7 separate regions of the Homo sapiens genome follow, and all the other regions are linked to region 3. The links are contacts of gene promoters, found by promoter capture Hi-C in blood cells and fetal thymus (Javierre and others, 2016). All regions are on one chromosome and are shown on one strand. Each heading gives the region's core, a stretch centred on a gene start or on the middle of the fragment in contact. The rest is flanking DNA. Distances are from core to core; before and after follow the strand shown. Region 1 overlaps SHQ1 (SHQ1, H/ACA ribonucleoprotein assembly factor). Region 2 overlaps SHQ1 (SHQ1, H/ACA ribonucleoprotein assembly factor). Region 3 holds the start of PROK2 (prokineticin 2). Region 4 overlaps SHQ1 (SHQ1, H/ACA ribonucleoprotein assembly factor). Region 5 overlaps SHQ1 (SHQ1, H/ACA ribonucleoprotein assembly factor). Region 6 overlaps GXYLT2 (glucoside xylosyltransferase 2). Region 7 has its middle 10 kb from the start of GXYLT2.

Region 1 (3,515 bases), core at 1,016-3,515, 1.1 Mb after region 3:
GCTTCTATAAAGGAAAAATAAATGGGTTCATGGCTAGCTGAAATGAAGGGCTTATCAATCATGAGGAGAAAATTCAATTAGCCTTTAAATGCCACCCATGCATAGTTTCTCTCTCACCTACCTGTTATTAAAGTTCAAGTTTGAAAATTATACCAGAAAGATTCCATTCATAAGCTCATAAGTCATCTACATTTTTTATGATCAATCATTTCACATGTTCTAATTTTTACTTTTAAATGTCTACTAAATGTAGGGGAAGTACTCTAGGAAATAGAACCGGAGCAGTTAACTTTACTTTGAAGAACATTGTGAAATACTTTAAAAGACTTGTGAGGGGTGGGGAACATCAATAACAGGCACTGGACACTAAGAAACAAGAAAGAGTGATAGGAACAGATTGTATTTGAAAGACATCAAAAGGTCCCCATGGTATCTTGTAAGATTATTATGTAAATAATGTGAAAAATCCCAAGAAATAAACTAACAAAAATTCCAAAGACAATACCTTTATCTGCATCATAGGACCCTTGCTCACTTCCATTTTCTACAATTCTTCCAGGAAGGGTTAATCTGCAGATTTAACACAGGTCTCATGAAGTCCTTAAATTATAACGTAACATAAGTGGCCATCAATACTTGCAAACATTTAACCATCAAAATATATCAATCATTTTTTAAGAAGTTCCTCAGTATTTCTTTCACATTTTAATAAACTAAGTTAGATTCTTTCCCCAACCAAGAAAGTAGAAATTAGAGATGACTCATCTTTCTATTTGAATACCCCTAGTCACCAACAAAATAGATACTGAAAAAGAAAAGCCATAATAAATAGTAGTTATCACTATTGTTATAACACAAGTTGAGTATCCCTAATCTGAAAATCTGAAATGCTCCAAAATCTGAAACTTTTTGAGCACCAACATGACACCACAAAGTGGAAAACTCCACACTTGACCTCATGTGATGAGTCACAGTCAAAAAGCAGTCAAAACTTGGCTGCATACACAAAAGTATTAAAAAATTACATAAAACTATCTTCTGGCTATATGTATAAGGTGTATATAAAACAAATAAATTTTGTGTTTAAACTTGAGTTCCATCCTCAAGATATCTCATTATGTATGCAAAAATATTCCAAAACTCTAGAAAATCTGAAATTTCATATAAGGGACACTCAATCTGTACAGATAAGGGATACTCAATGGGAAACAATAAAGAAACACAAAACCAATTGATTTTATCAGGCAAATTACTACTTTAAAAAAAAAGCAGAAAGCAAAAGTGTCAAATCTCATCATTATTATGTAGGGATTTACCCCTCTTTTGTACTAAAAGAAATGAAGTGATTGGCTGGGCGTGGTGGCTTACGCCTGTAATCCTAGCACTTTGGGAGGCCGAGGTGGGTCGATCACCTTAGGTCAGGAGTTCAAGACCAACATGGCCAAAATGGAGAAACCCTATATCTACTAAAAATACAAAATTAGCCAGGCATAGTGGTGCACACCTGTAACCCCAGCCAGTCAGGAGGCTGAGGCAGAAGAATCACTTGAACCCAGGAAGGGGAGGTTGCAGTGAGCCGAGATCATTTGCCACTGCACTCCAGCCTGGGCAACAGAGTGAGATTCTGTGTCCAAAAAAAAAAAAAGAAAAAAGAAATGAAGTGATTTCCCTGCTTCCAGTTTTACCCTAGTTCAATCAGTCTTCCACTGAGGCTCCAAAATAATTTTTCTAAAACAGGAATCTAATTGTCACTTTTCTATTTTAAAAAGTGTCTATGGCTGCCTCATGTTGCCTAGATAATTTAAACTTATCAGAAGGGCATATCAGGCCCACTCCATATCATTCCAAACTTGAAATTTGAGCTTCCTTTCTTCCCATGGCCCTCCCCCTTGTTTCCTACTAAATATGATTAAAAACAAAAACAGCTGACAGTCCCAAAAGGCCCAGGACCTTTAATCCCAAGGTTTCCTCAAGCTTCAATACATTTTCAGAATGAAAATCCCTCTAAGCCAGAATAAGGGGTCAGTTTATGGATGAGTTTGTTATAATGGTTACAAACGCTAACTTTAGTGTCAGAATCTGAATTAACTCCTAGATCTGCCATTTACCAGATGTGTAACAACCTTCTTTGTACAAGTTAATTATTCTTCAAGAATCATAAATCCCTCTTCTGTAAAGGGGGGAAATAACAGTAACTATCCAAGCGTTACTATGAGCATGAAATGATAATGCAAAGAGCTTAGTGGCCGGCACAACAGGTGAGCATTCAGAAAATGTGAGCTATTATTACCAGCTCCCTTCCCCTAAACTCTATAAGCCTAGAGTTAAATTCTTACTGCAGAGAAAATTATATTTGCTTACATGGGGCCTCCGCAGCTACAGTCTCCATTCTTCAAGGAGAGGGACCAGGTTTTATTCATCCTTGGTATAGCAAACTGTATGTTCTTTTTTTTTTTTTTTTTAGACAGTCTCGCTCTGTTACTCAGGCTGGAGTGCGATAGCGCAATCTTGGCTCACTGCAACCTTCGCCCCCCAGGTTCAAGCGATTCTCTCACCTCAAGCTTCCCAAGTAGCTAGGACTACAAGCGCGTGCCATCAAGCCCAGATAATTTTTTTGTATTTTTAGTACAGATGGGGTTTAACCATGTTGGTCAGGCCGGTCTCAAACTCCTGACCTCAAGTGATCTGCCCACCTCGGCATCCCAAAGTGCTGGGATTACAGGAGTGAGCCACCACATCTGGGGGCAAACTGTATTATCAAAGAATGCCCATCTCACAGCACTCTTCCCAACCATGAAGGTCTATGTTCCCTCCCCTTAAAATTCAGCAGGCTCTGGGACTGTTTTGATGAATACAATAAAGCAGAAGTGACACAGGAATTAGACCTTTAACATATGAATTTGGGGACAAGAGTTGGGGGGGTGCCCACAAATAATCCATCCACGGCAACGGGTAAATAATAAAGCCTCGTTGTAACACTGTCCTAATAACAAATGAGATAATCCGTATAAAGCACTAACCTGGAGTAAAAATTCAATAAATATTTGCTACCACCATAATCTTCTTCCTATTCTTCACATCTTGGCTTAAATATCGCCTCCCCAGAAAGGCTTTTCCTGACCACTTTATAAAACATGGGCCCTTTTTCATTCTCTATTAGTGCACTTCTTTCTCCTCATAGCACTCACCACAATTAAGTACACTGTTTATTGTTTTCCTCTCCCCAGTGAAAAGTACATGAGGGCAGGACTTTGTCTTGTTCAGCACAATAATACCAACACTGAAACTCAATAAATAAATTAAAGAAATAAGTGAATTAAAAAACTGGAAAGTGCAATAATTCAAATACGGACGTTATATGGTCTAAGGGAAATCTGAGCAAAACTGGTTCAGCAACAGTGAAAAAACCACCTTGACTGGTGGAGAAGGTTTGTACCACAAAAGTACTTGGGTGGGAAAAGTAGGATGCAGCTACACTTCAGAAAGATTAGGAGGATGGATAAAGAGAAGGACAA
Region 2 (3,095 bases), core at 206-2,705, 1.0 Mb after region 3:
TGCCTGGCTAATTTCTATTTTTTCATAGAAACAGGGTCTTGCTTCCTTGCCCAGACAGGTCTTAAACTCTCGGCCTCAAGTGACCCTCCCACCGCAGCCTCCCAAAGTGTGATGGGATTACAGGCTTGACCCACTGTGTCCAACCTCTGATCTCTTTAAATAGAAGGTACATAGAAGACTGGTCCTACCCTGAAGTCCCATCCCATATTCGATGATGTGAAATGAAGCAAATCTGAAGACACATTGGACTGAAATCTAGCACTTGTGCTAGGTATGCAAGTACTACAGACTTTAGTAAAATTTCAATAAAGGAAAAAATTTTTGAACTCAACCAGCAAAGAAAAACAAGCAGATGAGTAGGAAATTCAGGATACTGCATCTCCACAAAGAGGCTAAAAGGGGCTACACACACACACACACACACACACACACACACACACACCATTTTTGGCATGTGCACTCATATTTTCTACCAAGATAAAATCTATTTTATTAAGATACTAATTTTAAAGTTCCTTAAACTACTGAAGAAGATAAAAGCAACATTTGTAGAGAACAGAAAGCTAATTTTCCTGCACTCTACATTCCTGTTTTAACTAGAAAAATAACAGCCACATTCAAAATACACCTCTCACTCTTGGAGGACACTTATTCAGAAATGATTCTATCTTGCATTCAAAGTTGGAAATTGGTATTCTTGGGAAAAGCATTAACAAGGTATAACTCATGGTGAAAATTTTATTTATATTTTAGTTAACTAGAAACTCAAGGAATTGGTTGCTTTGATACACTGAATTTTCTAACTGATAGTTTTACAACCTTATAGTTGTAAACTATAATCTTATATCAGTTTCTAACTGATAGTTTTCCACAGCCTTCCCTTTCAACTGAGATACTGAAATCACTTAAAAATTAGAAAGATCACAGACAACTTACGGAGTTCTTTGTATGTTCCAGGCACCGCACTAAAAGCTTTGCATCCATTATTTCCTTGAATCCTCACACCATCACTATAGGCATGGGGTACTATCAATATCCTCATTTTACAAAGGTAGAAACTGAGGCTCAGAAAAGTTTTGTATCTTGGCCAAGTTCAGAGAACAAGTAAAAACCATAGCTAGGATGTAGACATACTGAACTCTTACTTCAGACTCCAAGCTCTTAACCAACATAAATATTCCATTTTTATATATGAGGAAATAAAGTACATATTAGACAAAACTGAACAGCTAATATCTTGAAATAGGAATTCTCAATAACAATTTCCAACAGGTGCACAGACATATGAGACAAGGACAAAATAGCTGCTTCATAAACTAATCCTGCTAAGCCTATTTTCTTATTAGCTATCTCTTTCTCCTTAAAGTGAAGGAACTCTTTTGAATTGAAGTTCTACTATAAACTCATCCACAAATCAGAACGTGAGCTTTTTTCTAGGATATGAATTTCAAAGGGATAAACAATAACAATAAATGGCTAAAATGCTAAATAAGTCATTCATTCAACAGAAAGTACTGACATTGTCCCATGTTCCATGATCCATGTTAGGCACTGGAGTTCCATTCATGACAAGACACAGACAGTCCTGGCCCTCACACAACTTACAATCCCATGGGAGAGTCAAGCAATTACAATATAGCAAAATGCTATGACATATCAGCAGTACAGGATTCTAGGGCAAAATAAATTAGAATGACAGGCAAGGACCCTGGAGGATATAATACCTAAACCAATGGTTGAATGATAATGAACAGTTAACCAGATGAAGGGGGTGGGACAGAGTATTCTGTAATGAAAAACTGGTTGGCGAAGGCTAGAAAACAAGAAGGCACATTTAAGGGAAAAAAAGTTGAAAGAAGCTGAACATAATATAGTGGCAACCACCTTGTAAGCCATGTTTAAAAAATCTCAAAGATTATCCCTACCAACTAAACACTTAAAAGCTTTTTACATAGGGGAATGACATTAGCATGGTTTAGAAACATCACTCTTATTGCAGCCTGGAAAATGATTTAAAGGGAGAAACCTGGAGAAGCAGACATAATGGTGGCCTAGGATAAGAGAGTGGCAGTGGACATGGAGAAAAGTGGATGAATCTGACCTATACGTAGATGACAGAACCCTCAGGTTGTAGGGAATGAAGAGCTCGAGGAGTGAAAAATGACACTGAGAATTCTGGCCTCCACAACTCAGTGGACAACAGTGTCCTTCGTTGAGACAGGGAAGCTAACAGACATGAGTGAGAAATAACGACTCCTGCTTGGGATAGGTTGAGTATGACATGCCTTTTTTTAGGATTTACAAACAGACCCATCCAATAGGTAGGTGGACATACAAGTCTGATGCTCAAGACAGAGATATGAGAGTCATAAGCATTTAAACCAAGAAGAGGATAAAATTGCCCAGGAAGAACTGGCACAGTGAGAGAAAAGGGCCTTGGACACCACAGCGCAGAGGACACCAAAGGCAAGAGTAAAGGAGCCTAACTGAAAAGATGCTGTTTTCCTCCCCAAGGGACCATGATGAAGGGAAAAAGAAAACTGGCTTGGTAACATGGTATTTCTACCACCTCCATCCCCCTCCCCACCAAAAACACCTCCAAAATGTTTGATTATTTTGAGTAAAATTTCACTAATACAGTCCTAGTAATCTGAACTGTGGTCTATGCTTGAATTGTCCATGAATTAAGAGTTTCATGAACAAGCGCTGACGGTGACTAATGTTTTACTTTTCATAATAAATTACTTTCAAGTTTTGTCTGTTTTTTCATCTGAGATCTCAATTTTTTTTCAAGACTTTTTTTTTTTTTTTTTTTGAGACAGAGTCTCACTCTGTTGCCCAGGCTGGAGTGCAGTGGCGCAATCTCGGCTCACTGCAAGCTCCGCCTCCTGGGTTCACGCCATTCTCCTGCCTCAGCCTCCCAAGTAGCGGGGACTACAGGCGCCCGCCACCATGCCCAGCTAATTTTTTTGTATTTTTAGTAGAGATGGGGTTTCACCATGTTAGCCAGGATGGTCTCAATCTCCTGACCTCATGACCCACCCCCTCAGCCTCCCAAAGTGCTGGGATTACAGGCGTGAGCCACCATGCCCCGC
Region 3 (3,322 bases), core at 676-3,175:
CAATCACCTGGATGTTTAACATGCTATACACAATGTATCTTGATAAGTTACTGAGTTTTTCATTTGAATCCAGATGGTTCCTGTCATGGAGACATAACTACATTTTATTGCCCTGTTGCTTTAGAGACATTTTTAAAATTCTCTTTTTGTAACACTGAGTTAAAATAACAACAACAAAAACAGCACACATAACTATATAATAAGCCCAGTCTAAGCCTCTCTAACAGATAGACAGCCAATGTGATAAAATTTTATTTTGTAACAAAAGCTTCAGTTCTTGGAAAATTTACAAAGAGTTGCATAGGTTTATATATTTTTAATTAGACAGCTGTTTCCTAATGCCCTTCATCCTTAACCCATTGCAAATCTATTCAGATAGTGTTGTCCTGTGAATGGAACAAAAAGATACTTATATTGCAAAGGGATCTTGGGCTCAGAGGATTAGGAGAAACTTTAAATGAGCCAGCAGGAGAAGAGGGAGAAAAAAATCCAATCATGTTTCAATTCTCATGTATTAGAAAGACCTGCAAAAAGTTTTTCTCAACCACATGGACTGGCAAAGCTATGCAAGTAATTTTTTGAAAAAATCTCTTTTCTAATAAATATCACAGAGCTTACAGTTAAATATCTGTTGGATATATACAAATGCTGTCATAGCAAAAGGACTTTCAAAATTCTATAAACCTAATAACTAATATAGAGAAAATAGAGCTTGATTTTTTCAAGACAAAGATACTTCCTTTAAAGTCAAATGATATTATCTATGTATCAACATTTCAAACATAGACGTTTTATTTAAATCCCATTATGTGCACTTAAATATTTGAAGTAATTTAATGAAGGTGTGAAATAATTCCTCACTTAAAAAACAGTAAAGAAGTTGAACAACCAGGAAATGATAGCAGTTTTGCCTTGTTAATGTAAACTAGACTATTTAGTATTGTACTGCAAACCCAATTTTTTCAGATCCACACAAAATTGTTGAGAGTGGGAGAGAACTGAACTAGTTCCTACTTACAGAAAAGATGAAAACATCGTCTCTAAGTTTAAACATCTACACAGCAACCTACTCCATCATTATGCTGGAGCACTGGAGGTGCTTTGCCAGGAATTAGAAATTTAAAACTTTTATGGGGATACCTCAAGACCCTGAGCGCGGGGGAAAGCCCCGGAACCCAGAAGGAAGCTCCCACAATTGCTTTTCAAAGCGCTCACATGGCCCTGGACCAAGCGATTTCAAAGGGTTTCTGCGGAGGACGCATCGGGGAGCAAACTCTTTGACTGTAGGATTAAGACTCTGGGCACTTGGGGAATTCGTCTTGGTCCTTTGCATTTCAGGAAGGGGCCGTCAAATTTTAAGGTTCGAGGTTGGAGAGCCTCCAAAAGTACTTGAGAAGACTCAGAGAGAAACTTCTTTCAGCCTAACAGAAGAAAAATGCGAGGAGTGAGGCCGTGGGTGATGAGGGAGAAGTAAGCGGGAGAAGGTGGTAATAAAGGTGGTGGGCGACATCCTTGTCACTGTTTCTTCCAGGACGCGCCCAGTGTCCCCAGCCGTCTGCTGCTTTTGGATCTGGGTATTTTCCCAAGTGCACCAAGGGGCGACAGGGGCAGGTGTCCCCGCCCAGGGCGACCCTCCCTTTGCCTCTAGCCTGCCCTTCAGGGTCCCCGTCCCAAGCCCCCTGGGCACATCCCAGGCGCGCATCAGGGGCAGACAGGTGCGCCCGGGCCGCTTACCCCGGTGATCACGGCGGCGTCCCCAGCGCGGGGCGTGAGCAGCAGCGGCGGCAGCAGCAAGAGGAGCAGGAGTGGGGCGCAGCACAGGCTCCTCATGGCGCCCTCGGGACTGGGCGGCCGCCGGAGGCAGTTGGGGGCGCGGGGCCCGGGTGCGCTGGGTGGAGCGCGGAGCGGCGGGCGGACGGGCGCGGCGGCTCCCGCGAGCCTCCGGGCCGTTATAAAGGCTAGCCCCGCCGTGACTCACGCCGGCGCCCGCCCGGCAGCACACGCGGGGGGCACGGCGCGGGCACACACCCCACGCCCCACGCGCACACGCGCGCCCGCCTCGGCCCGGCCGGCTCCCAGACGAGCACGTGCTATGCGCGGCCCCCCGCGCCCCCGCCTCGGGCGCCACGCAGGCAGCGCTCCCGGCGGGGCGCCCCGCTCTGCGCCGTTCCCTCCGCCGTCGCCCAGCCACCGCCTTTCGCACGCGCCGGAACCGCTTTTGTGGTCTCCGAGACACTCATTTGCTGTCCTGGTTTCCAAAGCTCCACGTGCTCAGCGCCGAAAACTTGCAAATCATTTGCTGTACAGATGTTTAGGGGTCGCCTACTACGTGCGGGGCGCTGTGGACACATAGGGGGCGGGGGGTGGGTGAGGGGGACACAGCAGCCCCTGAATCCATTCGTTTGTTCAGCAGGTCTATACTGGGCGCCCGCTGCGTGCCAGGTACTGCCACCGGCTCTCTCCTCACGGTGGAATAACTTAACAGAGAAGACAGACATCAATCAAATACCCTGGAAACGTGGAAGGCAGGGGAAAGAACAAAGGGAGAGCAAAATCGCCCCAATCCCACATCACCCGCGACGTGAAAGGATTTGTCCTTCCAGCTGCGGGACTCCTATTTGTTTATTTCAAGTCAGAGGCCTTCCCTTTATGCCCACATCTGTTCCCGACCCTCTCCTCTGATTTTCCTCACATGTATTTCCTCCCCTCTTCAGCCCCGCGCCAGCTCCAGGCACAGCCGTTCAGGGTGATGCCAAAGGGAAATGAGAACGCCTGGTTTCGAGTGCCAGCCTGAGGCCCCTTAAGCCCTAGGTACGCAGCTCTCTCTTCTTTCTTAAACTTTCCAGCCCAGGAAAATCACCCTTCGGTTTTACAGATGCGATAGGGCGTTATTGTGATTCCTTCATTCACGTAAACATGAATTGAGTGTCTAGTGGGTTCCAGGCACACCAGGAAAGAATAAGTGACAGATTTGCCCTCCATCTCTCATCCTAGCCTGGCTCCAAAAACTGCAGCCTGTTTCCCTCAACAAAAATGACGTCAAGAATACCTAGATGTGACCACACCGAACTTGCTTGCCCGTTTTGGGAAACCCAACTTTCTTCCTGAATAGTCAGAACCTCTGGCTTTCCTGGTCTCTTAAGAACCGCAAACTATTGAAAAGCAGATGCGTCTTTCAGCCTCTTTAATAAATGCAGTAAGGAGAGTTGGGACAGAGTTACTTTCAGACTGTGGGGCTCCCCCGTGCCAAAGCATTCAGACGAAATGTGGGGGATAGCGGGGGGAAGGCAGGCAATTATCTGAATGTTAAACAGCTGAATAT
Region 4 (3,215 bases), core at 683-3,182, 1.0 Mb after region 3:
ATGAATGGGAAGAATGTACTAATTTAGGAGACTGGGAACATAGACTTGTACTCCAAGGAAGAGACAAGAGTAAAAAGAATTCACTTTGCCTCATGGAAGGAGAATCCGGAGTTCTCCCTTTCAAACATTCAGCAGCAGTTCATGATTTCCAGGAGTTAACTCCTGCTGTACTCTGAAGTTCTCTCCTTTCTTCGATAAGTTGGTATGTAAAATGGTCAGCAAAAACAGGTACAAATGCTACTTCAGTATCTGACTTTAATTCCATGCTAGTTTCTGAGAGCACTATGATTGTTCTATTCTTAGAAACATTAACTGGTATGGGGAATTAAGCCAGAAAAAAAAAGTTCAAGAACAATTTAGAATAGGAGGAAGAAAACACAAGGAATTACAATCTCCCGGGTGAGGAGCAGGGAATTAAGCAATAATATTTAAAAAGTAGAGACATAAATTCCAGTGACCAGTTAACTCAGATAGGAAAGAAACTATCAACTAGTTTTAGAGGCTGTAGAGCAAATCTCAGCATCAGATAGCATATCGATTTTCCATCATCTAATTCCAACAAACACATTTTCATAGCAGAAACTACACTATCCCATGAACCTCCTCACATGGTTTACTCACAATGTTTACAACATTCCCTCCATCCTTCAAGTCCCAATTCAAATCTCACAGCCTCTATGAAAATTTCCCTGACCCCTAGTGAAATGTGTCGTCTCTCTCTTTTTTGAACTACTTAATCCACATTTCTTGTAAGGCACTTACCACGGCTGACTATATATTTTATGTTACTGATGGACATCTTAGCTCCCTAGGTAGTGAACACGCTCCCCGGCTAGTGAACACGTCCCCAAATACAGCCCACACATCTAAATTATTTTTCTAGTGCTCTTTATATTTACAGGGTGCTTTGTATGGACTGGCTCCTGAGTAGGCATACATTCAAAATATGTGTTGAACAAATCAATGAATAAATGAACTCATCAAGCAATTAACAAGTACTTGAGGGTGTTAGGAAACTAGTAGGAGCTGAGAATTAGAGGTCAAATAAGGCAGAGGCTCCCACAGTAGGAAGTTACATGTCTTCAGTGACTTAAATGTAGGTCAGTTTCCCTGGCTTATATTTTCACTCTCCATATTTCTCTTTTGAGCTACTTATTACAAATGCAATTTTTCAAAAACCCTGGTAGTTGTGTAATTCTGTGCCCTGTGCCCCCATTAGAACTATTATATCTTCAGGATCCAGCTCAGCAGCCTCACATGGCAGGTTCTCAACAAATACTTGTTGAATAAATCTCAAAATAGTTTCATACAATGTATTTAAAGAGTAAAAATTAAAAGGCCTAACAATTCTTTAAAATGTCCAGAACTGGGAACTTACAGAAGTTAAATATAGATAAATGTCAACACTGGAAAATGGCAGTGATTTCATCTTTTAGTTTTCGAGTTTGCAATATCTCCTCTACAATTCAATTTTTTTAAAAGTCATTTGCTAAACTGACTCTGGAATAAATAAAATGTAAATATTAAAAAGAAATTCACCTTTAAAGTCTCCTCCAAACTTGGAGCTCATACAATACACTTGCCAAACCTCAATGTTTTAAACATCCATTATTCTTTTAAAAAATTGATCAGTCACAAGCCCTGTGCTTGGTACCATAGCTCTTCTTTCCTTTCTCATTGATTGTGTTATTTTATCTATGGAAGAGGTTAGTAAAGCAGTAATTTCTGAAAATTTGTTTATTGAGCCCAATTAATAATTGATAAGTAAGGGCTATTAATTACCTGAAGTAATACCTGGTTTTAATTGGGGACAACAACTAAACTCCTGAAGGCTGTTTCTTGGGTTACTACCTGCTAGGTAGCTACTATTCATCAGACTTCACATGTTATTAGAAAGTAGGTTTCTATTAACCTTAAAAACAAAACAGCAAATAGAAAGAACAATTGTATACGTTTTTCTTAGCCAAAAAAATTTAGAAAACTGTCCAAATATTAATAGAAATCATGTTTTCCACAAAATGGTGGATAAATTCAAATTTGAAACTTGGTAGTATGGTGGTTAAGAGTCCAGACTTAAGGAAAAAAAAAGACTTTGTCTAAAGGAAAATCACAACATGTACAAAAATAGGGAAGACAGTATCATGAATCCCACATACTCATCACCCAGGCAGCAATCAACTTGTAGCCAACCTTGTTTCAGCTACACCCCACCCACTTTCCCACAACCCACTCTGGACTATTTTGAAGCAAATTCCAGGCTTCATATAATTTCATTTATAACTATTTCAATATATGTAAGTGCACAGACTCTAAGTTACACAGATCTGGAGTCAAATCTAGGCTCTCCCACCTACTAGCTGTAAGACCCTGGGCCACTGACTTCACTTCTTTGAGCCTGTCTTCTATTTGCAAAATGGGGATAGTAATGCCTGCTTCACAGGACTGCAATATGAGCAAAATGAGATATGGTATCTAAAGAACTGAACCTAGCGCTGGCACACAGAAGGTAGCTAACACACGCAGCTGTGGTTATTATTAACAAACTAGCCAAACCAGAGCTACCTCTATTTAAATTATGGGGTGTCCGAACAAACGAGCCTCTTCAGTGGCAATAATGGCATCCCTGTGCCATCCACCTGTATGTATTATTAACACATCAGGACAGAACTCTGACTCTTTTCTAATGAGGCTCACAAAGAAAATAACTGGTATCAAGTATCCCTTTATTTTAAAGAGATGCTAACCTCTCTATGCTGAACTTGTAGAGAGAGAAACTAAAAATGATTTGTAATTCATTCACTGAATATTCACCTTCAGGAGCTTAAGAGTAAAGAGGTCCAGAAAAAATGTCCATGGATAAAGGTGGTGTGGGTGCAGGAAGGAGGTGCTTTTCTGTTACCTTAAACCAAGAGAAAGGGGGTTTTAAGAGGCCCTAAGAGAGTACAACCTGCTTACCCTGGAAATTTTAACCGTAGATACCAACTGGAGAGTACAAAGATTGGTGTCTGGCTTCCATTAAGAAGCAGGACAGAGCAACATGGGGTGGCCAAGTGGAGGTAAGTGGTATGTCCTGCCAAAGTGAAAGGGGTCCTCCTCCCTGCCGCTGGTCACCCACCCTCAGGCAGGTCCCAGCTGGGGAAGGGAAGAATTTCTTTTGTAATGAAGTTCAAAGTGGACATTTTAAGCACTGAAATTAGACTCCTCTTGTGACTAGA
Region 5 (3,288 bases), core at 582-3,081, 1.0 Mb after region 3:
CGACGTGTCTCTCTTGTTCACCACAGTATTCCCAGCACCTATCTCACCACCTGGCACATAATAGAGCTCAATAACTACTGGTTGAAAAAAAATACATGACTCCACTTTTACATGCAATTCTGATGTTGCACCTCTGCATATGAGTCTCTCTCACTACCTCATTTTGGCAGAGGAACCAGGAACAACAGAGAGCCAGAAGGAAGAGATGTATGTTATCTACCCTGTTCTTAGCATAATCCTATCCCCTTCAAAAGCACATGCACATAGAAAGCAACTCAAGAATCTAAAGCAATCATAAGGTCTTAAGCTTTCTAAAATTTTAGAACTTCAGTGCTGAAATGACTTAGGTTTACTTACAACTGAGGAAATTAAGGTTCATGACTTATGAAATGACAGATAACTATCTTGTGATATAGCTGTTTCCCTCTACAAACTTCCCACATTAGTGTCCAAAAGGTCAGAAGATTTCAGCAAAAAAAGTTAATTGCACTATTAGAGTTAATTAACCATTAATCAGTTTAATGCAAAGAGGGTTTAGAATTTCAAAAACACTTTTTTTCTTTTTCCCCAGAACTACCTACTTAAAAAAACTATACTAGAGAGGAAAAGTGTGATTTAACATCTTAATTACAGGTTCACATTTGTACTGATAAGAGTCAGGATTTTAGATTTTAGTTTCATTTAAAAACAATAAAATTTTTCCATGTAGCAAAAACAAAAGAACACCGTTCTTGATCCCTTGTCATTTCAAAATGTGCTATGTATTAAAACCATACAGTTTTAATGTGAAATTTTCTCAGTGAGCATATATGTACTCTTTTTATAATGAGGAATAAATTAGTTACTTAAAAAAAACTCTGTAATGGATATTATGTTATAAAGGGAAATGGTTTATAAGGTATTATCATGAGTATAAAACAGGCTACAGAATGGTATGTGCAGTATTGCTTCCACTGGTTTAAAAATGCATTGGGGCTCTCCCTCTCCCCCTCCCCCTCCCTCTCCCCTCTCCCTTTGCACGGTCTCCCTCTGATGCCGAGCGGAGGCTGGACTGTACTGCCGCCATCTCGACTCACTGCAACCTCCCTGCCTGATTCTCCTGCCTCAGCCTGCCAAGTGCCTGGGATTGCAGGCGTGCGCCGCCACGCCTGACTGGTTTTCATATTTTTTGGTGCAGACGGGGTTTCGCCGTGCTGGCCGGGCTGGTCTCCAGCTCCTGACCGCGAGTGATCTGCCAGCCTCAGCCTCCCGAGGTGCCGGGATTGCAGACGGAGTCTCGCTCACTCAGTGCTCAATGTTGCCCAGGCTGGAGTGCAGTGGCGTGATCTCGGCTCGCTACAACCTCAACCTCCCAGCTGCCTGCCTTGGCCTCCCAAAGTGCCAAGTTTGCAGCCTCTGCCCGGCCGCCACCCCGTCTAGTAAGTGAGGAGCGTCTCTGCCTGGCCGCCCATCGTCTGGGATGTGAGGAGCCCCTCTGCCCGGCCGCCCAGTCTGGGAAGTGAGGAGTGTCTCTGTCTGGCCGCCCATCGTCTGGGATGTGAGGAGCCCCTCTGCCCAGCCGCCCAGTCTGGGAAGTGAGGAGCGCCTCTGCCCGGCTGCGACCCCATCTGGGAACTGAGGAGTGTCTCTGCCCCGCCGCCACCCCATCTGGGAGGTGAGGAGCATCTCTGACCAGCCGCCCCGTCTGAGAAGTGAGGAGCCTCTCTGCCCGGCAGCCGCCCTGTCAGGGAAGTGAGGAGCGTCTCCGCCCGGCAGCCGCCGCGTCCGGGAGGTAGGGGGGGCGCCTCTGCCCTGCCGCCCCGTCGGGGAAGTGAGGACCTCCTCTGCCCAGCCGCCACCCCGTCTGGGAGGTGTACCCAATAGCTCATTGAGAACAGGCCATGATGACGATGGCAGTTTTGTCGAACAGAAAAGGGGGAAATGTGGAGAAAAGAAAGAGAGATCAGATTGTTACTGTGTCTGTGTAGAAAGAAGTAGACATAGGAGACTCCATTTTGTTCTGTACTAAGAAAAATTCTTCTGCCTTGGGATGCTGTTAATCTATAACCTTACCCCCAACCCCGTGCTCTCTGAAACATGTACTGTGTCCACTAAGGGTTAAATGGATTAAGGGCGGTGCAAGATGTGCTTTGTTAAACAGATGCTTGAAGGCAGCATACTCGTTAAGAGTCATCACCACTCCCTAATCTCAAGTACCCAGGGACACAAACACTGCAGAAGGTGGCAGGGCCCTCTGCCTAGGAAAACCAGAGACCTTTGTTCACATGTTTATCTGCTGACCTTCCCTCCACTATTGTCCTATGACCCTGCCAAATCCCCCTCTCCGAGAAACACTCAAGAATGATCAATAAACACTAAAAAAAAAAAAAAAAAGAAAAATAAACTTGTTACATATTTAAAAAATGCATTGGGAAACAAATACAGGAAATATCAAAATACTAATATTGGTTGAATTAGATTAAGTGACAAAGTGACTTGCTAAGGTCATACGGTCAATGAGAAGTAGAGCTGGAATGTATTACAGTTCATTATTTTCTATCCCACCTTATATAAAAAGGTGCCAACTATTTGAATGCAAGGACTTTTTTGCTTATCTGTAGTGATGGATATCATAAAAATTATGCATGGATCTTTTTTTTGGTCCATGCTATCATTAGTGTTAGTGTATTTTATGCGTGGCCCAAGACAATTCTTCCAGTATGGCCCATGGAAGCCAAAGGGTTGGATACCATGGAACTGTTAAATTTCAGAGGGTCAGAACTATCACTGCTACTGATGGCAGCCCACCAGCAAAGAATGGGGCAACTTGTATATGTAGCTGAAATACCAATAAAAATAAGTTAGAATTGATTTATATTTTTAAAGTGCTACATTTAAAACAAAAATGAAAAACGTTCCTTTAATCCGGTCTAATAGGTATCATTCAATTTGAGTAAAACTGATTGTGCTCACAAACTGTGATGGGTCCAGACAGGTGCTTATTCACATAGACCTTAGCATTTTAGAGGGGAAAGAGATACACATCTAGATTCCTACAATATAAGGCAGGCATGAGAGGTGCCCAATGATCTCTCAACCAAGTGCTATGGGAACATCCATGAGAAAGACAGATGTTTCATTCATTCCTTTTCCTATAGGAAAATCTCTCTGAAGAAAGGGCTTTTATCTTTTTTCTTCCACATGGTATGGGTGGAGACAACTGGTTGCATAAGTGGCATATCTTGAAAAATATGAAATCTGGAACCAGAAGACCTGACCTATCTCTTATAAGACATATAACCTCAAACA
Region 6 (3,489 bases), core at 885-3,384, 1.1 Mb after region 3:
TCCATTTTTTTCAGGACTATGCTCAAATGTTTTCTCCTGAGAGGGGTCCTGCTAGCCGCTCGAGTACTCCTCTCCATCACTCTCTTCTTCCTTACCCTGTGTAGTCTTTTGTTTTTCACAGCACTCATTGTGTGAATATTGTATGTTATTTGCTCCTGCCCCCTCATGTACACTTAACAGTGATCTCCTTAAATCACTGTTTCACTAACTCCTAAAACAGAGATAGATGATCTCATAGCAGATATTCAATAAATACTTGTTGAATGAACTAATGAATGGGTGCAGGACCTGCCTGTGCCAGCCGTGTTCCAAGATTTACTTATAGTATTAAGTTCCTTATTATCTAATAATATTCAAAATAGTCCCATACCCTTTCGAAGAATAGTGAGGGTCTTTAATAGTAACACCATTAAAAGAGAGGAATGTTTTTCCTTTTAAATAGGTTTTATTTTTTATTACTTTTATTATTTGGGTTTTTTTTTTTGAGATAGTGTCTCACTGTGTCACCCCAAGGGAGTGTCTAAGCCCACCATCATGATCCATGCCTTTCATAGTGTGAGCTTCTTGTATCCAGTACTAAGCCTGTCAATACATTCATTTCTCTGCCAACAGCTATTGGTCCACAGGTATGTCATATGACCCAAACTGGCCCAATCAGCCAGAAGGAAAGAACTTATTTTACATTATTAAACAAAAGACTCCATCTTCTAGATACAACCAAGGAAATAAATAGCCCCAGCTGCCACCATATTCATAAGGGAATCGCCTTTAGGATGAAGCCATCTGTTTGGGCAGTAGAAAAAGAAAATACAGGTCCTTGAGGACACTGCTGAGTCCCAGAATCAAGGCATCCTGAGGTCTAACGTTTCTTGGGCCCTGTGTTGGAGTTGAGGGTTCTGTTACTGCATCCAAAATCATCTTAGCTGAACTAGATGGTTCTTTTAAATCAAAATCTTGGGACTATTGATGGAGAGAAAGGGGAATAGTTGGGTGGGGGCACCCAGGAAGTGAGCATCCACCACACCCTAGAGCAGCCGTTATGTGCACTTGACTTTATCAAAACCTGCGGGTGACTTACCAGAGGTAGGTTCCTGAGCAAAATCAGACTTTTCTTAAGGATTTTTAAAAATTGGGATCAGAGACTATATGGTAAATGTACCTGATAGCAATAGCTTGAGCATACCCTTAGAATGACCCTGCATGCCAGCCGCACCTGAATGTGTGTTCCAACCTAGGGAATCCTGGAGTGGCCAACCCAGAGAGTCAGTCTTACATTCAGTGAGGAACATCTGAGCCCTCGTCCTGCCCCGTGGAACACGGGCTATACAGGGGATTAAGGCCTTGAGTTTTGGGTTGCATGAAGATTGCCAGGTGGAGGTTGTTGAGGGGAGGATGGCAAGTGAAAACGCTATAATATGTAAACTGCACACCTTTTGCAAACAATTGTGGTTCTTCTGCCCAGCCCTTCCCCACTGGGCTGTGCAGTCATCTTGTCCAACCCACTGCCACTGGACTGTATGTAAGGCGGTCCTCCTGCCCAGCCCATTGCCACTGGACTCTCTCCCCTGTATGGAAGCCCCCAGTAAAACGCCAGGTCTCGTTTGCTGGCTCTGGGTCTTTTCTTCAGCCTCTTGAACCTGGTGCTTTCCCCATTGAGGTTAATAGGGGTTTGGCACAACAGAGGGCTAAGGGAACAGCGTAAGGGCAAACTGTTTCTAGTGGCTGAAGCTTTACATTATGCAACTCAGGGATTGCAACTGTATTTCTGCCAGTGGAGAAGGCTGTTCTGCAATAGGAGCTCATGAAAACCAAGATGATATGGAGAGATGAGAAGTGACGCAGAGCAACCCAGATGGGGTAGGGCGGAGTGGGGTCAGGTGGGCTGGTGGCGGGGTTGGGGGGCAGCTCCCAACACTGTTCCCAAGGCCAGCTTCTTGCCTTTCACTGGCTGTGCTGTCTCAACCTTTTCTAGATTCTGTGATGTAATGAGTTCCCCTTTTTTTCTTAATCTAGTTTGACTTGCATTTGTTACTTGCTACCAGAGAGTCCTGACTAATTTGAATATGTAGCACCTGCTTTTAACACCTTTACTAAATTCAGTAAATATTGGCCATATTGACACGGTTCCTTTTAAAACTCACAGGTGAGAGTCTTTGGAAGAGAATTTGAGAACAGATTTGTTTTCCTTAGGAATACTTCATTTATAATTCACTGTAAAGAAAAAAAAGACAAAATTTTATGTTGTATGTATTTTAGCACAATTTTACAAATAATAAAAAGAAAAGAGACTTCTGTTGAAGATAGAATTCATTTATTCATTTTATGTTTCCCTTAAATATTCCCCAGCATTTATTTCAAATTATGAAGTTCCGAAAACTCCTCTTGGAAAAAGAAGTTTTTTGACATGATACCTTCATTGGGAGTTGCTGATTTTGTGCCAGAAAAGAGTAACCTTGATATATTTCAAGTGACTTTTAGATGATCCCCCATCTCTTTTAGCAACATGAGAGACTGTAATCTCATATGGTACAATTTATAATCCAAGCTTTACATAAGACAATAGAGAATACATAATCCAAAATATGGCTCTCTTTTATGAGTCAGAAAACTGAGATCCGAGAGGTGAAATAATAATGTACATAAAGCACCTAGCACAGTAGATTAGCTCATAGGAGTCACCAAATGATTTGCTGTTCTGGGTACTATTATTATCCATCATTGCATTAGGAATTGAGCCATAACTAGACCCAGCTAAGTACCCGCGTGACTTTGAACAAGTCGGTCCTCAGCAAATTGTGGCTTTCTCAGAAATAAGCTCAGTGACAAAATGAGACAATGCAGGTAAAGTGCTGACACCGAACATGCCACACCAGAAACTCCCAGCAAGTGTTAGCAAGGGCTAAGCTACAGATTCAAGGCTGGGCCTGGTGGCTCATGCCTGTAATCCCAGCACTTTGGGAGGCTGAGGCAGGAGGATTGGTTGAGCCCAGGAGTTAGAGACCACCCTAGGCAATATAGTGAGACACCCATCTCTATTTCAGTTTTATATCTTTTAAAAAAGATGCAGATTCAAGCAGCCTTTTCTTGTGGGGGTAGGTATGACTTGAGGAAACTGAGACTCAGCTTCTATATATAATAAAGGATACACCAATCTCAGTCTCCTGGTACTCATTAAAAGCTGAAGGAGTGTGGCCAGGCGCGGTGGCTTAAGACTGTAATCCCAGCACTTTGGGAGGCTGAGGCGGGCAGATCGCTTGAGATCAGGAGTTCGAGACCATCCTGGCCAATATGGTGAAACCTGGTCTCTACCAAAAATACAAAAATTAGCCGGGCATGGTGGCAGGTGCCTGTAATCCCAGCTACTCTGGAGGCTGAGGCAAGAGATATTGCTTGAACCCGGGAGGCAGAGGTTGCAGTGAGCCGAGATAGCGCCACTGCACTCCAGCCTGAGTGACAGAGTGAGACCTTGTCTCACATTAAAAAAAAAAA
Region 7 (3,520 bases), core at 391-2,890, 1.1 Mb after region 3:
TTTTAATAGAGCAGTTTCAGGTTCACATCAAAATTGAGTAGAAAGGAGAGTTTTCATATGGTCTTTGCCCCCACTCATGCACATATATTTTTCCATATACTATATTCTCCACTGTTTAGTTCATTTTGTGCTGCTACAACAGAATACCACAGACTGAGTTATTTATTTATTTATTTATTCATTCATTCATTCATTTATTCATTTAGAGACAGGGTCTTGCTCTGTTGCCCTGGCTGGAGTAAAGTGGTGCAATCATAGTCCACTGCAGCCTTGACCTTCCGGACTCAAGCAGTCCTCTCACCTGAGCCTCCCAAGTAGCTGAGAGACCACAGGCACAAGCCACCACATCCAGCTAATTTATTTTTATTTTTTTAGAGATACAGCCTTCCTGTGTTGCTCAGTCTGGTCTCAAACTCCTGGGCTCAAGTGATCCTCCTGTCTCAGCCTCCCAAAGTGCTAGGATTACATCCTCCCACCTCAGCCTCCTAATGTTCAGGAATTAACACATGTGAGCCACTACATCCAGCCCATTTTCAAATAACACTGTATCATTTCGCTGGTAATGCAAATGTCTTTTTTTTAAACAGTTTTTTTTAAACAAAAAATGACTTCAAATTTTAACTCTTTTTTAAAAGCATTAAGACCCTTATTGTAGATTATGTATCATCTCCTCTTTAGCTATGAGATGTGTAGTTTTGTTAACTAGAGACATTAATGAGTTCAGTTTCTGAGACCAGTCATTTCATAAATTATTTGGATCCTTGGGTCTCTGGAAGTTGTTAATTCCTGCTAATCTGTCTACTTTAGCAAATATGGTCTTGTTAACTACTAGATTTGAGAGAAAGGCTTCGGACTCATCAACAGATAGATCCAGAAGCTGTACCATCCTTTTCATTGTCATCCGAGTATAATACTTGGCCATTATTCTAATATTATGTTCAACAACTCTGTTATTCAAATCTTTCCACCTTTTTTCGCCTTCCTCTGTAGAACCAAAAGCATCAGTTGCAGGACTGCCAACGGAACCTTTTCTTAATTCCATTCCATAGTCCTCCACAAGTGTGGACCAACGCATCAACTCCATTGTGGTAAAAAGCTTTAGAAGATCCTTGTATTTGGGAATTTCTTCTGACTTCTTGTCACCACTTATTCAGTGAACCAAATCTGACTGTTCATTGTCAAAAGGAGCCAGGGTAACATAGGGTACAACACTCTTCATAGCCTGCTGCCATTTTTCACTTTCTGCCTGTATACAGGGAGTATTATATATTGCTCTGTAGTGCTTACAAATAAACAAATAGGATCCCTCATGTTCATCCAGCTGAGTCATTAAATTATCGTACTTCAACTTTAATTTCGCTGTATTTTCTTCCTGGAAAAACTTGGTATTAATTTTCTTACTGATGATTTATGTTCGAATGTAATCCTTTACAGCTAGGCAGAGCCTCATTTGCTCCAAAATAAATTCCACTTGCTCTTTCTTTTACATTGATCCATAGGTTTCCACCTGTAGCTCCTATAAACGGAGGCTGCCTCTTTCACATCACCATTTTGTTCTTTTATAGTTGCTAATGTTTTAGTCAGTCGAGCACACTCAATTTCAACATAAATCTTGCCTTCGGTAACCATTCATAGAGTATCAGTTAATTGAAGTTTGATAGGAAGGTCTGTGATTTCCTCAACATAAATACAGTACTATTGAACCATTTTGGCAACAGCTTGTATTAACTGACTCCGCCTTTTGGACAAAAGTGTAATATTTTCATTAAGTAAATCCCATTCTTTAGCCTCATAGCACATCTTCACTACTGCAACTAAGATTTGGGATGTTGACCCCATATCAGAAGCAGTACGAGTCTGTTTTTCCAAAGAGAGAAGGGTTTCCATGACTTCTTGAAGTCTTCCTTCCTTGGCCAGCTTCTCACACTCGGGTAGGCACTGATCTACCGTGGCGTTGTAGTCCACTTCCATTTTGAATATGCGCCCGTCAGCCTGCTGCAAGTGGCCGTCTGCCATGGTCTCTGCCTGAGTGTCCCTTGCTGTCCCCCTGCTTTGGCCACCACTCATCACCCACACCGGAAGCTGCCCGCGCACCTGCTCCGCAAATGTCTTATAATAACAAAATATTCCTAATACTTCCCTCCCATCCCTTGTGTTATTACTGTCATTCCTTCCACTTATACATAAGCTTTAATCATCAAATACATTGTTATTATTTTGAACAAACCTTTTGTTATATCAATTAAGAATTTTTAAAAATATGTGTTGTATTTTATCTTCACTTATTCATTCTCTTAAGCTCTTCCTTTCTTTATGTAGATCCGAGGTTTGGACCTACATCATTTTCCTTCTCTCTGAAGAATTTCTTTTCACGATTCCTGCAAAGCAATTATACTGGCAACAAATTCCCTCAATTTTTGTTTGTCTAAGAAATTCTTTATTTCTCCTTCACTTTTGAAGGATAATTTATCAGGATACAGAGTTCTAGACTCGTGTTTTTTTTTTCTTCAACACTTCATGTATTTCCTTACTCTGTTCTCGCTTGCATGATTTCTGAGGAGAAGTCAGATGTAATTCTCATCTTTACTCCTTTACAGTTAAGATTTTATTTTCTGACTTCTTTCAAGTTTTTTTCTTTACCTTTGATTTTATGCAGTTTAAATATGATATGCCTAGGTATAGTCTCTTTCTTTCTTTTTCTCTTTCACACTTACATTGCTTAGTTTTCTGAGCTTCTTGGATCTGTGGCTTAGGGTCTGCTATGGTTTGAATATGGTTTGTTTGTCCCTGCCAAAACTCGTGTTGAAATTTAATCTTCAATGTGGTGGTGTGGGGAGATGGGACCTCCTGGGAGGTGTTTGGGTCAAGGTGGCAGATCCCTCATGAATTGCTTGGTGCTGTTCTTGTGGGTGTAAGTGAGTGCTCACTCTGGCGAGACTAAATTCATTTTTGAGAAAATGGATTTGTTCCCTCAAAAGTGGGTTATTATAAAGCCAGAATGCCCCTTGGGTTTTCTCTCTGGATGTGTCTACTTCCCCTTTTACTTTCTCCGCCATGTTATGACACAGTGCAAAAGCCTTTGCCAGAAGCCACACACCCTTAACTTCCTAGCTTACAGAACATTAAGCTAAGTAGGCTGAGCACAGTGGCTCACGCCTGTAATCCCAGCACTTTGGGAGGCTGAGGCGGATGGCTCACTTAAAGTCAGAGTTCGAGTCCAGCCTGGGCAAGATGGTGAAACCCAGTCTCTATTAAAAATACAAAAATTAGCCAGGCGTGGAAGTATGCTCCTCAGGAGACTGAGGCACAAGAATCACTTTAACCGAGCAGGTAGAGGTTGCAGTGAGCCAAGATCGTGCCTGCACTCCAGCCTGGGCAACAATGTGAGATTCTGTCTCAAAAAAAAAAAAAATTGAGCTAAGTAAATCTCTTTTTAAAATAAATTATCCAGTCTGTTATATCAACACAAAATAAACTAAGACAATGTCTGACATTAACTTGAAGAAATTCTGAGTCATTA

Evidence for each region. Contacts are between HindIII fragments. The CHiCAGO score rates a contact against its expected background, and 5 or more counts as called.
Region 1: a contact is called between a fragment that was not itself captured here and the fragment with the promoter of PROK2 in region 3, in 3 of 17 cell types (erythroblasts, naive B cells and neutrophils). The highest score is 6.5, in erythroblasts.
Region 2: a fragment that was not itself captured here is called in contact with the fragment with the promoter of PROK2 in region 3 in 7 of 17 cell types (naive B cells, total B cells, erythroblasts and 4 more); the score reaches 11.8 in naive B cells.
Region 4: a fragment that was not itself captured here is called in contact with the fragment with the promoter of PROK2 in region 3 in 1 of 17 cell types (total B cells); the score reaches 5.1 in total B cells.
Region 5: a fragment that was not itself captured here is called in contact with the fragment with the promoter of PROK2 in region 3 in 2 of 17 cell types (total B cells and naive B cells); the score reaches 8.2 in total B cells.
Region 6: a contact is called between a fragment that was not itself captured here and the fragment with the promoter of PROK2 in region 3, in 1 of 17 cell types (naive B cells). The highest score is 5.7, in naive B cells.
Region 7: a contact is called between a fragment that was not itself captured here and the fragment with the promoter of PROK2 in region 3, in 1 of 17 cell types (naive B cells). The highest score is 5.7, in naive B cells.

The regions. Positions count from the first base shown.
Region 1 is chr3:72,843,854-72,847,368 of GRCh38, forward strand. It overlaps SHQ1 (SHQ1, H/ACA ribonucleoprotein assembly factor), which reads right to left. Exons shown (of 11, transcript NM_018130.3): 2 at 506-570. Among named protein-coding and RNA genes, the nearest start is that of SHQ1, 2.8 kb to the right of the region's middle. The HindIII fragment of the contact is 587 bases long and covers 1,973-2,559 here.
Region 2 is chr3:72,824,958-72,828,052 of GRCh38, forward strand. All of the region lies in intron 5 of SHQ1 (SHQ1, H/ACA ribonucleoprotein assembly factor), which reads right to left. Among named protein-coding and RNA genes, the nearest start is that of SHQ1, 22 kb to the right of the region's middle. The HindIII fragment of the contact is 971 bases long and covers 971-1,941 here.
Region 3 is chr3:71,783,223-71,786,544 of GRCh38, forward strand. It overlaps PROK2 (prokineticin 2), which reads right to left and starts at 1,926. Exons shown (of 4, transcript NM_001126128.2): 1 at 1,735-1,926. The coding sequence starts at 1,830. LOC105377156 (a long non-coding RNA gene) reads left to right here and starts at 2,168. Exons shown (of 4, transcript NR_199161.1): 1 at 2,168-2,301; 2 at 2,414-2,525; 3 at 2,715-2,811; 4 at 2,995-3,205. The HindIII fragment of the contact is 4,477 bases long and covers 267-3,322 here.
Region 4 is chr3:72,806,113-72,809,327 of GRCh38, forward strand. The region is part of intron 9 of SHQ1 (SHQ1, H/ACA ribonucleoprotein assembly factor); the gene reads right to left. Among named protein-coding and RNA genes, the nearest start is that of SHQ1, 41 kb to the right of the region's middle. The HindIII fragment of the contact is 9,648 bases long and covers 1-3,215 here.
Region 5 is chr3:72,786,726-72,790,013 of GRCh38, forward strand. The region is part of intron 10 of SHQ1 (SHQ1, H/ACA ribonucleoprotein assembly factor); the gene reads right to left. Among named protein-coding and RNA genes, the nearest start is that of SHQ1, 60 kb to the right of the region's middle. The HindIII fragment of the contact is 3,053 bases long and covers 306-3,288 here.
Region 6 is chr3:72,893,377-72,896,865 of GRCh38, forward strand. All of the region lies in intron 1 of GXYLT2 (glucoside xylosyltransferase 2), which reads left to right. Among named protein-coding and RNA genes, the nearest start is that of GXYLT2, 7.1 kb to the left of the region's middle. The HindIII fragment of the contact is 817 bases long and covers 1,727-2,543 here.
Region 7 is chr3:72,876,087-72,879,606 of GRCh38, forward strand. It overlaps the pseudogene PSMD12P1. Among named protein-coding and RNA genes, the nearest start is that of GXYLT2, 10 kb to the right of the region's middle. The HindIII fragment of the contact is 1,092 bases long and covers 1,095-2,186 here.